Linked DNA regions of Homo sapiens: region 2 is linked to region 1. The links are contacts of gene promoters, found by promoter capture Hi-C in human tissues and cell types (Jung and others, 2019). All regions are on one chromosome and are shown on one strand. The core of a region is centred on a gene start or on the middle of the fragment in contact, and the rest is flanking DNA. Distances in the headings are between cores, read along the strand shown. Region 1 holds the start of WDR5 (WD repeat domain 5). Region 2 overlaps VAV2 (vav guanine nucleotide exchange factor 2).

Evidence for each region. The method cuts DNA at HindIII sites, captures the fragments that hold promoters and counts their contacts. A contact is called where the count stands out against the background at its distance.
Region 2: a fragment that was not itself captured here is called in contact with the fragment with the promoter of WDR5 in region 1 in 3 of the 25 tissues and cell types used here (lymphoblastoid cells, spleen and thymus).

Annotation. Positions count from the first base shown.
Region 1 is chr9:134,131,477-134,139,049 of GRCh38, forward strand. It overlaps WDR5 (WD repeat domain 5), which reads left to right and starts at 4,606. Exons shown (of 14, transcript NM_017588.3): 1 at 4,606-4,724. It overlaps WDR5-DT (WDR5 divergent transcript), which reads right to left and starts at 4,506. Exons shown (of 2, transcript NR_186420.1): 1 at 3,710-4,506; 2 at 1-997. RefSeq lists enhancers at 837-1,406, 3,647-3,756, 4,663-5,587 and silencers at 3,947-4,116, 4,557-4,736. The HindIII fragment of the contact is 22,361 bases long and covers 1-4,612 here.
Region 2 is chr9:133,786,865-133,794,437 of GRCh38, forward strand. VAV2 (vav guanine nucleotide exchange factor 2) reads right to left here. Exons shown (of 30, transcript NM_001134398.2): 13 at 4,919-5,005; 14 at 2,394-2,479; 15 at 1,490-1,622; 16 at 382-396. Among named protein-coding and RNA genes, the nearest start is that of SARDH, 52 kb to the left of the region's middle. RefSeq lists enhancers at 86-638, 6,155-6,204 and a silencer at 925-1,084. The HindIII fragment of the contact is 4,129 bases long and covers 887-5,015 here.

The sequences.
Region 1 (7,573 bases), core at 3,356-5,855:
CTGCTGTGTGTCCCTCCTGGCAGGCACCGAGGTGGACAGGGTGTCCCTCTCTCATGAGCCCACAGTAGCGAGGGAGGTGGACAAGGGAGCGGCCCCTGGTGAGGGTCAGGATGCTGGCAAGGATGGAGGGGCCTTAAGGAAGGGACAACCCAGGCGATCAACCATCCGGATTTCTTTGGGATTGAGGGGCTGCCAGGGGCAGGGACTCCGGTTCTGGAACTGGGGCTGTGCCAGTCAAAGTGGAGTGTTGTCACTGCAGACAGGGGCAATCTAGAGGGGCCACCTTAGAGGATGGCCAGGGGAGCGGACGTGATGAATGGAGAACGAGGCTGGTGGGAAGGAGAACGGAGTGGAAGGAGAGAATTTGACACAAGGAAGAAACCACACAGTCCGTGTCAACAAGATGGGCTCCTCTGTCTACCCTGCTCTTTCTGTACCAGGGAGCTAAGGCCGGGGGAAGAAGAGAAGGACAGTGGTATAGTGAGGACTGGAAGTGGCTTTCTGGATACCTGGGTTGAGCGTGGCCAATCAGCATAAAGCTGTCAGGTGAAGGCCCACAGGGCCCTGATGGGCCCCTGTGGAGATCCTGGGGATGGGGGATGGTGACATGAATCCCCCAACTGGCTGTCCTGGCATAGTTACCAGGGGAAAAGGAATTTAACATAAAATCCCACTGACCTGGGCTGGCAGGGAGCCATAGGATCTCCAGGCAGCAGCAACAGCTCCCTGCACAGTGGCCAGGTTGAGGTGGCCCACAAGCCTGGAAATCTGGTCAGCAGCTCCGGGAAACCCTGGGTCCTGGGCATTGCCCCGTCCCTCGGCTTCCTCCACCTTCCCGAATCAACTGCCATCGGAATCCGCTGCCCCCCAAAGCTCTGGGCTGGCCATGAAGGGGCCAGTGCTTCCGGGCTGCCTGCTTCGAGGACACCAGCACTCCTGCCACGGGCCATTCGTCCATCGCTGCCAGTGGCCCTCCCTCTCAGGGTTCGGCAGTCCACTGTCCCCGAGGAAATACTAGTTACTAGGTGACGACACGGTTCCTAAAACAGGCTGGTGTTCTGCATTCAGCCCTGCTGCAACCTCAGAGCCGTGCTGCCTGCTCCTGATCCCAGAGGTGCCGTCTCTGAAGAGGCCACCCCTGGAAGCGCTGTCCTGCCTAGAGTCAGGGCTCACTTCCCTGGTTATGCCCACTAGCTGTGGGTCCTTGGGCAGCTTCTCAACCTCTCTGAGCCTTGGTTTCCTCATTGTAAAAAGGAGATAATAAAGGCATCACGTCACAGGCTTGTTGGGAGGGTGCAAGGAGGTACTAAATGTGACAAACTGAATACAGTGTTGGGTGCACAAGTGCTCCTCAGTGCTACATGTCACCCCCAACCTCCTGGGCCAAGTGCCCAGAGTGCTGTGATGAGGGTCAGACTCAACTCAGCCAGACCCAGGGGACACTGACCCAGGAATTACAATGGAAGATGTTTTCACTGTGGAGGAGCTGGGGGCCGGAAGACTTGCCACGTTTAGGGAGGCCCAAGTGGACACTGGCTGGTTGGGGGTGCCCTGGGGAGGAGAGACTGGTGGAGGGACCTGGGCCAGCGGGGAGGGTGGCCAGCAGGCCTGGACTGTTGGGCTGATCAGAGATCCTTGAGTGCAGGTGGGGAGAAACCTTCTAGAAATGTTTGTTTGTTTGTTTATTTATTTATTTATGAGACAGAGTCTCGCTCTGTTGCCAGGCTGGAGTGCAGTGGTGCAATCTCAGCTCACTGCAACCTCCACCTCCTGGGTTCAAGTGATTCTCCTGCCTCAGCCTCCCGAGTAGCTGGGACTACAGGCACCCATCACCATGCCTGGCTAATTGGTATTTTCAGTAGAGATGGGGTTTCGCTATGTTGACCAGGATGGTTTTGATCTCTTGTTCTTGTGATCTGCCCACCTTGGCTTCTCAAAGTGCTGGGATTACAGGCGTGAGCCACTGTGCCTGGCCAAAATGTTGTATTTATAAAAATTGTTTAGAGAAGGCTGGGCGTGATGGCTCACGCCTGTAATCCCAGCACTTTGGAGGCCAAGGCGGGTGGATCACCTGAGGTTAGGAGTTTGAGACCAGCCTGACCAACATGGTGAAACCCCATCTCTACTGAAAATACAAAATTAGCTGGGCGTGGTGGCGCATGCCTGTAATCCCAGCTACTCGGGAGGCTGAGGCAGGAGACTTGCTTGAACTCGGGAGGCCAAGGTTGTGGTGATCACCCCATTGCACTCCAGCCTGGGCAACAAGAGCAAACTCCGTCTCAAAAAAAAAAAAAAAAAAAAAAAAGAGAAAATCCTCTAACCCCATTCAGCAATTTTTGCAATCCACCCCTGCCTGCAGTCATAGCTAAAATTCTGAAACCATATAACGCCAGCAAGGAAGAGAATTTAACAAAGGCAAGTAATTTGCTTTACTAAGTTTTAAATCCTCTTATATCCTACCAAACAGTTGTCAGCCTCAGGAAAAAATATGGCAGGTGAAAATAGAAGAGAAAATAAGAATCACAGAAGAGGAACAAACACGATGGAGATTTTCAGAACATTAACTAGGCTTTGGCCACCAGCAGTGACTTAGTAAATGGAACTGTTTCTCTGAACATCTTTTTTATTTTTTTGAGACGGAGTTTTGCTCTTGTTGCCCAGGCTGGAGTGCAATGGTGCGATCTCGGCTCACTGCAACCTCTTTCCTGGGTTCCAGCGATTCTCCTTGCCTCAGCCTCAGCCTCAGGTGATCCCGACCTCAGGTGATCCACTCGCCTCAGCCTCCCAAAGTGCTGGGATTACAGGCGTGAGCCGCCGCGCCCGGCCGGATTTTCTCATTTTTACTAGAAGGTTCTATCTCCTGGGGGTGGGGTGAGGTGGTGAGACCAATTCACCTGGAAGTGGAAGCTGGGAACTTGGTTTGAGTTCTGAGGGTTCTGGGGTCTCGCCCCTTATCTTGCTTTGCCTGGAGGGCTGAAGGGCTGGAAATATTTTTGTTTTGGGGCTGGAACCAGGACTGCAGTTTGGGAGCCGGTGCTAGGTTGGAAGAGGAGGCGGGGTCTGGTAAGCACTTTAGCCGAATTGAGCAGTGGGAATTAGGGAATTGAGGGCAGTGGGAAGCTGGTTCTGAGTTTTAAACTGGGGAGTGACAGATCAGAGCTGGATTTTTAGGAGTTTCTCTGTTTGGAGGTTTAGAAAAGACCCAGGTGGGAGGTAGGGCTGGGGTGGGGAGGGAGAGAAGTGGACGATCTGAGAGCTGAGGTGGGGTGGAAGGAGAGCAGCGTGTCACGGGCTCGGGATTCCGGCCCAGGCGGCCAGGTGGACGGAGATAAAGATGCGCTTCTTCATCCGAACTGGGTTTGCTAACCTGTGACTGTCACCACTCCATGCTCCAGGGCACCTGGCCCAAGGGATCCGGCCTCTTGGGCACACAAATCCATATGGAGCCCTGAAGGACCAGACAGGGACCTTGCCTTCTCTGTGTCCTTCCTGGGAAGGGGACTCCAGACCAACTGCCAGTCTTCCGGTTCCACCTCTCTGACAACCGCTCACCTCACCCTCCTTGGCATTTTTATTTCAAATGCTCTATCCCTTTGTTTGCATGGGTTCCTGTGTCATATTCTGTGTTCCCATTTTTAATTGGAGAATAAGGGACTGTATGTTATTCTACCCACAGGCCTAGCTGAGGGGATAGGGAGGCCATGCCTACCTCCAAGGCTCTAAGAAGTGAAGCAGGCGGCGAGAATGTGCAGTCGTTGAGGCCAGAGGACCGGGCCTCAGCTTCTCCTTAAGCCCCTGAGTCCTCCTCTGGGGACCACCCCCTTGTACCTGGAGGTGAAAATGCCCGCCCAGGAGGGAAGGGCTGGCCCCGGGAGAGCCCGCTGCGAAGTGAGTTTGCGCACTGCGGAGCGGGCGCGGGTGACTCCAGAGCGGCCCTGCCAGTCCGCGGGGCTGGCGGGGAGCAGGTTCGTGCACCGCGGGCTCTGTGCATGCAGAGGCGGGAAGAGCCCCCAGCCCGGCAGCCGGCCCCGCGGGAAGGCGCAGCCCGGGCTTCCGAACCCTGTGAACGCGCAGGTTCCTGGTCTTCCAGATGGGCAGGAATCGTCCTGCCCGCCCGGGGTGGGAGGCCACATGGGGGCACTGCGCCCGGGCGCGGCCCCAGGTGCTTTCCAAATGCCCACTGCCGCTCTCATCCGTACCAGCGATGATCAAGAAGGGGCCTGGTCGCCCGGGGAGGTGCCCCGGCCCGAATCGACTCCGGAGACAACGCCGGGCGACGCCACCTGCGCAGGTCCCGGAGGGCCGCTGGTGTCTGTGTACAGGGCGTGCTGTCTGTGGAAACGCGAGGGCACACTAGCACTTTCCTGTATGTATTATTATACTTCAGTTTTTAGGAAGTGCATTAGAAGGGCCTGCACCAGTCAAATTCGGGGATTAAAGCTTTTAAGCGGGAAGCGCGCGCCCCGTGCTGTCCCTTTAAAGCGTTGGGCCGGCCCGAGGCATTCTGGCCGCTGTCGCTGCCCGTAGCGCTCCTCCGAGAGGCCGGCTTTGTGAGCTCGCCCCGCCCCCCGGACACCGCCCCCTCCCCTCGCGCACGCGCACTGCGCCCCCGCCGCCTGGCGCCCGCCCGAGCTGCCGCCTTGTCGAGCTGAGTCCGCGCTCCCGCCCAGGCGGCGGCCGACGCGACGCCCCGAGCGCCCGGCCCCGCCGCCGCGGCCCGGCAGGTAAGCGGGCAGCCGCCCGGCCCGGGGAACACAAGGCGGGCAGCGGGGCGGCGCCAGAAGCTTCCAAACCGCACCCGGCCGCCGCACGTGTTCCCCGCCGGGCCTCGGGCCAGGCCCAGCCCCGGGCGCTGCTCCCGCTGCAGCGGCCCCGCCCGGGACCCCCGCCCCGGCCCCTCGGTGGACGGCCGCGCGCGCAGTTCCCTCCACCCGGTCCGCCCCCACTCGCGCCCCCACCTCCGCCTCCCCGGCGGACCGCTGACAAGGCCAGAGCGCCGGCACTGGGTCCTCTTTCCCGCAGGCAGCGTGCCCGGCCTCACATCGCCCCTCTCCCTCCACTGCCCCTTCAGGGAAGGACCCCAGACCCACCAAGCCACTCAGTCCCTGGACGAGGTGCGCTTCCCCTCCTCGTAGAAACGCCCCCAGCCCGCTCCCGCCGCTCACCCCAACCCGAGGCAGCCAGGCTGCAGCTCGCTAGGTGGGGTCCTGGGGTGCGGGTCCTCGGTCCTGAACGGTAGGCCCACCGTGCCTCCTCGCGCGGGGCCGCAGACCTGTCCTGGCCGGTCTGCGAGAGCCATTTTGAGCGGTTACGTTCCCGGACCAAACAGAGGTCGGCCTGTTACATCGCTAACGACACTCCCTGCTGTCTCGCTTGCAAGTTTCCACTCACCCCGGTCCGTTTACCCATCTCCTCAAATGCTAGTTTAATCTGTGACCTGGGCAGGTGCTGTCCTAGCCGGTGGGGAAGACAGGAAAGCGAAGGACCCAGGCGGGGAGCCTGTCCAGGATCTCAGATAGGGAGAGCCAGGTCCCCACCTCTGTTGGGCCGGCCACCCGGCTGGTGTTTAAGATGCAGATTAATTCCTGTCTTTGCACACAGTATGCTTTTCTGACTGCATGTCACAGGCAGATTCCTGGGCTCCACCTCAGGGACTGAGGGACTCAGGAATCGGCCTGTGGCATGCAGTCCAGGAGGGCACACTGAGGTTTGGTTGCTCGGCTTCAGGTGGTCAGGCTTACCTGGATGAAAAGCAGTGGCTGCTAGGAGGAGCCAGGCAGCATCTGGTCTAGGGGCCGCCAATTCATCACCGTTCCCGTAACCTTGGCCCCCGCTTTCCTCAAGATCAAGTCTCCAACCTTCCTGTTCTCTCAAAAGGATTGTTCCACAGAGACACCTGAGTGTTCATGAAAATGCCAAGCCTTGGCCCGGCGCGGTGGCTCACGCCTGTAATCCTAGCACTTTGGGAGGCTGAGGCGGGCGGATTGCCTGAGGTCAGGAGTTCGAGACTAGCCTGGGCAACATGGCGAAACTCCGTCTCTACTAAAAATACAAAAGATTGGCCGGGCGTAGTGGTACGCGCCTGTAATCCCGGCTAAACTGGAGGCTGAGGCGCAAGAATTACTTGAACCCGGAAGGTGGAGGTTGTAGTGAGCCCAGATCGTGCACCTGGACTCTTTGGACTGTGTCTCAAAAAAAAAACAAAAACAAAAAAAAAACACGCCAAGCCTAGACCCCACCGACGTAGAAACTTGGTGGGTGTGTTGGGTCAAGAAATTGCATTCCCCGCCACCCCCCGACGGAGTTTCACTGTTTGGCCCAGGCTGGAGTGCAGTGGCGCAATCTTGGTTCTGCCTTCTGGTTTCAAGTGATTCTCCTGCCTCAGCCTCCCGAGTAGCTGGGATTACAGGGACCGACCACCACACCCGGCTAATTTCTGTATTTTTAGTAGGGAGGGGGTTTCTCCATGCTGGTCAGGCTGGTCTTGAACTTCCTGACCTCGTGATCTGCCCACCTCAGCCTCCCAAAGTGCTGAGATTACAGGCGTCAGCCACTGTGCCCAGCCATCATATTCTTAAAAGTCAAGTTAAGGTTGTTTTGTTTGTTTCTTTTACATGTTCATGTTTTTTGAGCCCAAAGGTTGGGGCAGGTTGGGCTTGAGCTGGGAGGGGCTGGACACCTTTTTTGTAAGACCGCCTATCTGTTGTTCCTCCTCTGAGGGTGTTTCCAGGCGTCTAGACTCACCCAGGTGAGTTGATGCTGACAGGAGCTGCTCGGCCTTCTGAGCTGCCTATTTCGCCTTCTGTTCCTCTGGTGTTTCGCTTGGGTAGGGCATGGGCACAGTTCACTCAGCTCTGGCCCTGGCCTGGCTGTCTAACGCTAGGACTGTTATAGTGGACTTTGCAGCTTTTTGCTTGGATTTCCTTAGTTCCTCTCTCTCCCTGTATTTGTCCAGCCTGCCAAGGAAAATGCAGCAGTTGGGTTAAATTGGCATGGCTAGGTTGCACTAATGACAAGTACCACGTAGCTGGCATTTACCGAGGACCGGTTTTGTACTGGCACTTTGTCCCCTGGGCAGCGCTACAGGGCCTGCCCCTCCTCTCCCCCTCTCTTGTACTGTACTCGGCCCTAGATGCAGCGTGATCCATCTTTGCGCAGGGAATCTTTGCTGCAGGTGAAATGGAGCGGTGGCCACACCTGTTCTCTGCAAAGTGGGTGTTGTAATTTCTCTGCCTTCCTCTTGGATGAAGACTTTGAGACATGCTTTTTAATGCCTTCCATTTCGCGTTAGTGTTACAATCAGCCTGTGCAAGATTTCAGTTCCAAGCTCCAAGCTAGAATTTACAGTGTGTAAACTCATTAGATTGATGGTAGTGCTAGCTTCTGGGATTCCGATGGCCAGTGGTATTTGCAAGCATGTCTCAGTGGCTTTCCCTTTTAAAAATGCTGTCCCTCCTTTCCAAGTAACCTGTTGTGCTTTTATGAGATGTATTGAAGTAATGAATCTATTCCCATGGTAGAGGAAACTAGCTGCTTACTGTACAGATTTGGGATAATTTTCATTGTCAAGGTG
Region 2 (7,573 bases), core at 1,701-4,200, 350 kb before region 1:
GCGTGGAGCGGGGATGGGAGGAGGAAAGAAACAAGGAAAGAGAGAGGAAAAGGGGAGAAAGAGGGAGGGAGGAGGGAGAGAACACAGAAAAACAAAAAGGATGATGGAGAGCTGAAGAGAGACCAAGAAACCCCAGCCTCTGACCCCGAGCTCCAGGGACTGAGGATCACGGAGTTTTCCTTTCACACTGTCTTAGCGGGCAAGCCTTTCATCATGAATACAAATCATTTCATCATCGGGAAAGGGAGTGGAGGACGAAGGACCAAGAAAACCCTGAGCCCAGCCCCTCAGGCCCCTGGGTCCCCTGGCTCCGGGCAGAAGTGCCAGCACCAGGCTGGGATGATTGAGGCAGGTGGGAGGACCTGGGCGCTAGGTGCTTACCATTTTCCCGTGAGACTAGGAAGCATGGAGAGGAGAGGAAGGGGAAGACGGTCAGTGAGAGGCTAAGCCCGGCCCTGTGGTGGGTGCCGCAGTGTGGAGGCGCCAGGAGCCCTGGCAGGTGGAACACCCCCCAGTGCCCAGGCTGGGGGTGGGGTGATCAGTGGGGAAAGGAATTTCTTCCCAGAGTGTTGGGTGCTGGTGGCAGGACTGCCTCATGGGCCCCAGTTACTTGTTTTGGGCATGAGGGCAGGGAGGGTCACCCTCAACAGCTCATCCAGTCTGCACTTGCTGGGTCTGGACGAGGGCTACACTGCCAGCCCTGGAGGCCAGGGACTGGACTTTCAGAACAAGGGCTCCTGACCCCCGCCCCCCACCCCACCAGGGCTGCACACGGTAGCTGCTCAAGTGCCATGGGCAGAAGCCTCAGCTGAAGCAGGACTGAACCAGACAGCCAGCCAGCAATAGCCCTATAGCCATGGTCCTGCCCCACAGCAGCTTCGGCCCCGTCCCTGTAGCCCTGGCCCCACCCGCTGGCAGCCACAGGCCCACCTCTGCAGTCCTGGCCCCGCCCCAGCAGCCACAGGCCCCACCCCTGCAGCCCTGGCCCCACCCCAGCAGCCACAGGCCCCAGCCAGCTACATGTAGAGTCTCGGACAAGCCACAGCCAGACCTACCCACAGCCCTCCTCCAAGCACCGCAGGGTGGGACGGGAGAGGAAAGCCTGCTTGCTACAAGGGACAACATGGGCTAGAGTCAGGCTGGCCAGATGGAAAGCCAAGGTTGAAAGTCCCACCCTCACTAGAGGCCTTGGGGTGGCCTCTCCCCTCTGCCTCAGTCGCCTCACTGGGGAGTGGGATTCTGGTCTTGCCCACCTTTCTGGGGGGCGCTGGGCCCGGCGAGGAGCAGGCCTGCTATGAGCAGTGGTCACGACGGCGAGGCAGTGACTCAGAGAGGAGCCTTCCTGCAGAGCGGAGACGCCCACCCCAACCCACCCGGCCAGCATCAGCGGCTGACTTCGAGTCCCCTTCCCCTGGGGTCTGGAACCCAGTGCCTCTCTCCAGGCCACCCCCACGTTCCTGGGTAGCAGGGGGGACCCGGAAGGCCCCACCTTCTTGACGTCCTTGTTGTTCATGGGGTCGTCGGTCATCTTGTGGAACAGCAGCTCGATGATCTCCTTGAGCTCGTAGCTGTAGCCCTTCCGCTTGCAGACGATGACCACCTTGTCAAACAGGAACAAGTACCTGGGCCAGGCAGCGCAGCGGGGGATCAGCACCCCAGCACTGTGTGCTCTGCTCCGAGGAGGCGGCAGGAGCTGAGCCTGAGGCTCTGGCACGCGGCTCCCTCTCCGGGCGAGCCCTGCCCTCACCTGGCTCACCAGGCTAATGCTGAGCCTCGGTCAGGTCTCGGCTGTTCCCACACTGCTTCTCCAGGAAGCCTTCCTTGGCTCCCTACCCCCGTGACTGAGGCTGTGCCAGGAGCCCTTCAAGGGGCTCCTGCATCCCCCACGCTGGCCTCCCATGCAGCACTGACCCCCGACGGCTACTCCCAGTTGATCCCGCGCTGGACTGGGAGCCTCAAGAGGGTGGGACCCAGATCTGCTGTGACCCCTGCCCCAGCACACAGTAGGTGCACAAGGAGGGCCCTGGACAAGCCTGGGCCACCGTGCGCCTGGACACTCTCCGGCAGTCATTTGGCAAAGAGCCCATCCGACCACTCTGGGCCTGTCTTGGGTTCCTGGAGGCTGAGCATTGGCAGTGAGGGGCCTGGCCCTCATCTTTGGCTGCCCCAGCCCAGCCTGGTGCCCGCCACAGGCACAAAAGCCCCACTGCTGTGGCGCCCGCTCGCTGACGAGAAGGAAGGAAGCAATTAAAACTGAACAACACAAAGCCACCGCCAGGCAGCTCTTTCCACAGGAAGGCCTGGCTTCCAGAGCCACTTAGGAGTGGCTCCCTGGGAGGGAGAGCCAGACCCTGGCGGGACGCCACCCAGCCCACAACACGCGCCCTGCTCACCTGTCCTGCTTGGTGTGGTTGACTATGGACCGGACTTTCAGTTCCCCGTCAATCTTTGGTCTTCCAAATTCCTCCAGTTTCACTTGCTGGGAAGAAGGAGAGGGGCCGTCAGCCGGGGCTGGAGCAGCCCCAGTTCTCCTGACCGCACGGGCAGGGCAGACTGTCGTGCACCCAAGGGAACTCCCCACAGGCAGCAGAGGCGGGACGAAGGGAAACAGCCCCTGTGGCTCCCAGCTGGTGCTCAGGATGGACGAGGGAGGGTGCAGAAGACCGGGAAGGGACTGGGCCTGGCAGCTTCTCTCCCTTTCCTGGCCAGCCCTGCCAAGGGGCTCCCTTCAGCTCTGGGGACAAAGGGCGATTGACGGTGCCGGTTGTGTTCACAGAGGCCGCCGCTGTGTGGAGCCCCAAGCGGGACCCGGTCGGAAAAGCCAGAAGCCCAAGCCCCACGTTCAGGAGAGAACAAACAGCGCCTATCTGCTGCAGGGCGGGTGGGGCCGGGGTCCTGCCAAGGGTGAGGCTTCGACTCAGACCCCTGTGTGGTTCGCTGAGGTTCATTTTCGTTGTCTGTCTGGTTTTGTCTCTGTGACTCTTCTGATTCAGAGAGAGCTTCTCTTGACATGTTCCCTGCGTGGCTTTCAAAGTGTCCACACAGACAGGAAAAGGTGGAGGAAAATGCTTCAAGACACGAACAGGGCCCTGCCTGGGAGGTGCTCGAGGCACAGGCTCAGTGTCTCCTTCCAAGGTCTCAGCCCCAGAGGCTGCAAGGACAGCTTTGGTGTCACATAGTCCCAGTCAACTTGCTCCAGGCCTCTGATCTCAGCTCTCACCACCTTCCCTGTGGCAATGGGATTCAGAGCCAGGACTGGGTACAGGGCCTGGCTCATGGGGATGCTCGACGCCTGCTGGCCATGCTGTTTTATTCTTGTTGTTGTCGTTTTTGAGATAGTCTCACTACGTCACCCAGGCTGGAGTGCAGTGGCGCAATCGTGGCTCACTGCAACCTCTGCCTCCCGGGTTCAAGAGATTCTCCTGCCTCAGCCTCCCAAGTAGCTGCGATTATAGGCACCCGCCAGCACGCCTGGCTAATTTTTGTATTTTTAGTAGAGACAGGGTTTTACCACATTTGCCAGGTTGGTCTCGAACTCCTGACCTCAAGTGATCCTTCCACCTCAGCCTCCCAGAGTGCTGGGATTACAGGCATGACCACCGCGCCCAGCCTGTTCTTGCTGTTTAATGAACAAGTATTACTTCTATGTAAAAACTTAAAAAACAAAACAAAACGAACTTTTCTCCTCACGTCCTGCTCACTGTACGCATTTGTGACCGCCTCGCGCAGGAGCTCACGGCAGCACGGACCCGCCAGGTGCTGATGGTGCAGGGTGCGGCCGTCCTTGGCCTCCTCTGCACCCACACATTTTAATTTCTTTCTAAAATGAAAGATGAAGGGGGCAGTATCATAATGCCCTTCAGAAGCTTATTTTTTTTTTCTTTCATCGCCGACGTATCGCAGGTGCTTTTCCGTGCCCCACGTTCGCGGAGGGCATTCTCTTTGTGCTGCTGGCACCGGGTGGGTGTGGCCTGGCCATCGGGGACCTTCCCCTGCCAGCTTCATGTCAGTGAAATCACCAGGGTGAAAATGTTTGTGATTCACCACCAGGGGTAATTTTGCCACCCAAAGGACCCTCTGGTAATGTCCAGAGGCATATCTGGTTGGCATTACTTGAGGGGGTGGGGGTGCTACTGGTGTCTGGTGGGTGGCAGGCAGGTACACTGCTCCACATCCTGTAACGCACAGGGGCAGGTCCCACAACCAAGAATGATCCAGCCCCAGACGTCAGCAGTGCTGAGGTGGAGAAGCCCAGGTTAGAACCAGCAGATCCTCGGGAAGTCGGCTCCGGTCAGCACAGACCAGGGAGTTTGCTTCCTGGGGTGGCGCATCCCCTCTCCCCAGGCAGGACGAGGTGACTGACTCGGTAGCCCAAGCCTGGCCTCTGCAGGGCCAGACTCTGGGGAGCCCCAGGAGGTGGCAGCCCTGCCTGATGGGGTCCGAGGAGCAGAGGCGACTGCCGGCCCCACCGAGCCTGGGCCCAAACCCTGTCCATTGCCCCTGGAGGGGAGAGTCAAGGTGAGGGTGGGCCAGGGGTCCACGAACCAGGGGGCGTCTCCTGCCCCTGGGAGACACAGTTCTCCTCTTGGACTTGAAGGGGTCTTCTGTCTAGGCTTGGGGGAGAAGGGGGGCTGGGCAATGAATACAGTCCCTCCCCTGTCCCCTCCCCTCCCCGTCCCCCTCCCCCCGAGCACAGGCAGTCTTCAGTGCACAGGGCACTTGGGTTGGCTGTCGTGGGCAAGGAAGCGTGGATGCTGGGGGTCTGAGATCAAACTCAGAAGTTGCCGGGCACCAGCCTCTCAACAGGCAGCCATGGTGTGGCTGCCCATGGAGCTCACTCAATACTGGGGCTGTGAACGTGACTTTATAGGTACGTCCTCATCGACCTTCCCTAGCCTGAAGAGTCAGTCTCACTCACCAAATTTTCTATAGAACTCTGAAATTCGCTGATTTTCCTCAAGGTCTCCTTGTCCCGTTTAACTTCATTGATGTACATCGCCAAGTCCTTGAAAACAAGAGGCAGAGGTGAGCGGGCTGTGCTGGGTGGGGTGTGTGTGACTGTGTGTGTAAGCAGGCTGTACTGGGTGGGGTGTGTGTGCATGTGAGCGGGCTGTGCTGGGTGGGGGGTGTGTGACTGTGTGTGAATGAGCTGTGCTGGGTGGGGTGTGTGTGTGTGAGCATGTGTGAGCGGACTGTGCTGTGGTGTGTGTGTGTGAGACAGCATGTGTGTGTGAGCGGGCTGTACTGTGTGGGGTGTGTGTGAGCGGGTTGTGCTGGGTGGGGTGTGTGTGACTGTGTGTGTGTAAGCGGGCTGTACTGGGTGGGGTGTGTGTGACTGTGTGTGTGAGCTGGTTGTGCTGGTTGGGGTGTGTGTGACTGTGTGTATAAGCGGGCTGTACTGGGTGGGGTGTGTGGTATGTGAGCGAGCTGTGCTGGGTGGGGTATGTGTGTGTGATTGTGTGTATGTGTGAGTGAGCTGTGCTGGGTGGGGTGCATGTGTGTGTGTGTGTGAGCGGGCTGTGCTGTGGTGTGTATGTGTATGAGTGATTGTGTGAGAACATGTGTGTCTGAGTGGGCTGTACTGGGTAGGGTGTGTGTGATTGTGTGTGTGATTGTGTGAGCAGGTTATGCTGAGTGGGGTGCGTGTGATTGGGTGTGTGTTATTGTGTGTGTGTATGTGAGCAGGTTGTGCCGGGTGGGGTGTGTCTGACTGTGTGGTTGTGTGTGTGAGCAAGCTGTGCTGTGCAGGGTGTGTGTGTGTGAGCGTGTGTGTGCATGCACGCACATACATGCAGGAGCTCAGCCCCCAAGGGACCCCCCCCCCCACCCCCCACCCAGCATCCAGGCACCGGGCGTTTCTGGACCTTCTTCCTCCATCCTGCCGGGGAGGCCGCCCTCGAGACAGGAGGGCTGAAAAACATCACCTCTGCATGACAGATGAGGAAACTGAGGCAGGAAAGGGAACACACTGACCGAGAGCCACACCTCGTCAGTGATGATGCCAAGAGCCCCAAACTCCTGGCTGGTGCCACTTCTTTCTACCCCATCACGTGGTCCCTCTTAAACATCCTAATAGAGGGAAGCAGCCCTGTGTGTGGGAGCCACATCAGGCCACATAAGAGCCACCTAGACTTGGGCTGACCTATGTCCCTGTTCTTGGGAAGCTTCCCCCTCCCCAGCCTCTCTAAGCCACAGCCTCCCCTTGGAGCCTGGACAGAATGAGGGGTCAGGAAGTCCCTCTCTCCACGGGTCTGGCCACCCCCACTCCGGCGCCTGCCTGCCGTGCTGCAATCCTCGTGCTGGCCACCAGAGAGCAGTGCCCACTTCAGTCCAGAAAACGCAGTGTCCAGACCTGGCCCACAGCGGAACCCAAGGGAGCCGGCCACGTGGGCGGTCCTGGCCCTGCCCCCCGAGAGCAGCGGGTGGAATTCCCCAAAATGCAAGTGACCAGCCAGGGCCAGAGCCAGAGCCAGAGCCAGGTCTTCAGCAGGTTCCCATCCCTCCCGCCCTTCCTCGTTCCTAGAAGACCTCACCATTGGCTCCCCACCCACCCCGCAGGAGGGAACTTCCTGGGGAGGCTGCAGCACGCTGTCTGAAAGGGGTGTTCCGTTTTCTTGTCGTTGTCCACTTGCCTTTAAAATAAGGAATAAATTCCCAGAGACAAGGACCCCAGTAGCAAGTCTGGAGCTCAGGACCACCCCCCTCCCAAAGGCAGAAACATTACAACTGTGACCACCGCGGCCCCTGCGTGCACCTGGCCCAATGCCTGGCATGAAATAGGAACAGATGGAAGTTGCCCGAATGAATGAGCAGGTGAGGGAAATGTCTGTACTTTGATACAGAGGCAGGACTGCAGTCAGCTCATGGAGCTTGGACCTAAAACCGCAATTCCCTTGGAGACAAACCTCAGGCCCACAGCGGCACGGGGGCTGATTCTCAAAGACGCTGCCGTACAAGGAGTGAGCCCTCAGTCCCTAGGGGAAATCAAGCCCAGGTACAGCGACGACTCCCATAGTGGCTGCATGAATGACTTCCTATATAAATTGGGAATGGATCAAAAGACTTCTAAAATCCCCCCAGCCCTGAAGTTTCATGATGAGGTTCGGTGGCTCTCAGAAAGGCAGACGCACACCCGCAAGTCACCGAGTACTTTGTGCAGCACCGTGAGCTACACTCCTGGGAAACCATCCCGTCGAGGGGCTCAGAGCCACTCGCCAGCCAGACACCGAGTGCTGAGAGTATGAAACGCAAGACCACACTCAGGGCCCGGGTGCACGGCCCACTGCACCTGCTGTCACTGTCTCAGAGCCCCCGAGGACGCATCCACGCTGGCTCACACACCGTGGCTCACAGCAGACAGGCCAGAGCAGGTGTTGGAGAGGGGCGGCTTGGGGGCTGCAGAGCTGACACCGAGAAAGTTCTGTCAGCCCGTCATGGCAGGAGGCTTTCCTGGAGCATTCCTCAGGGTGCTCGCTGCCCAGTGCAGCCGAGCGGGAATCTGAAGGTCTCTGGGACCACCTCCCGTGCCCACACACGAGTGCCCACAGGATTTGGAGTAAATTTCTCCCCGAGC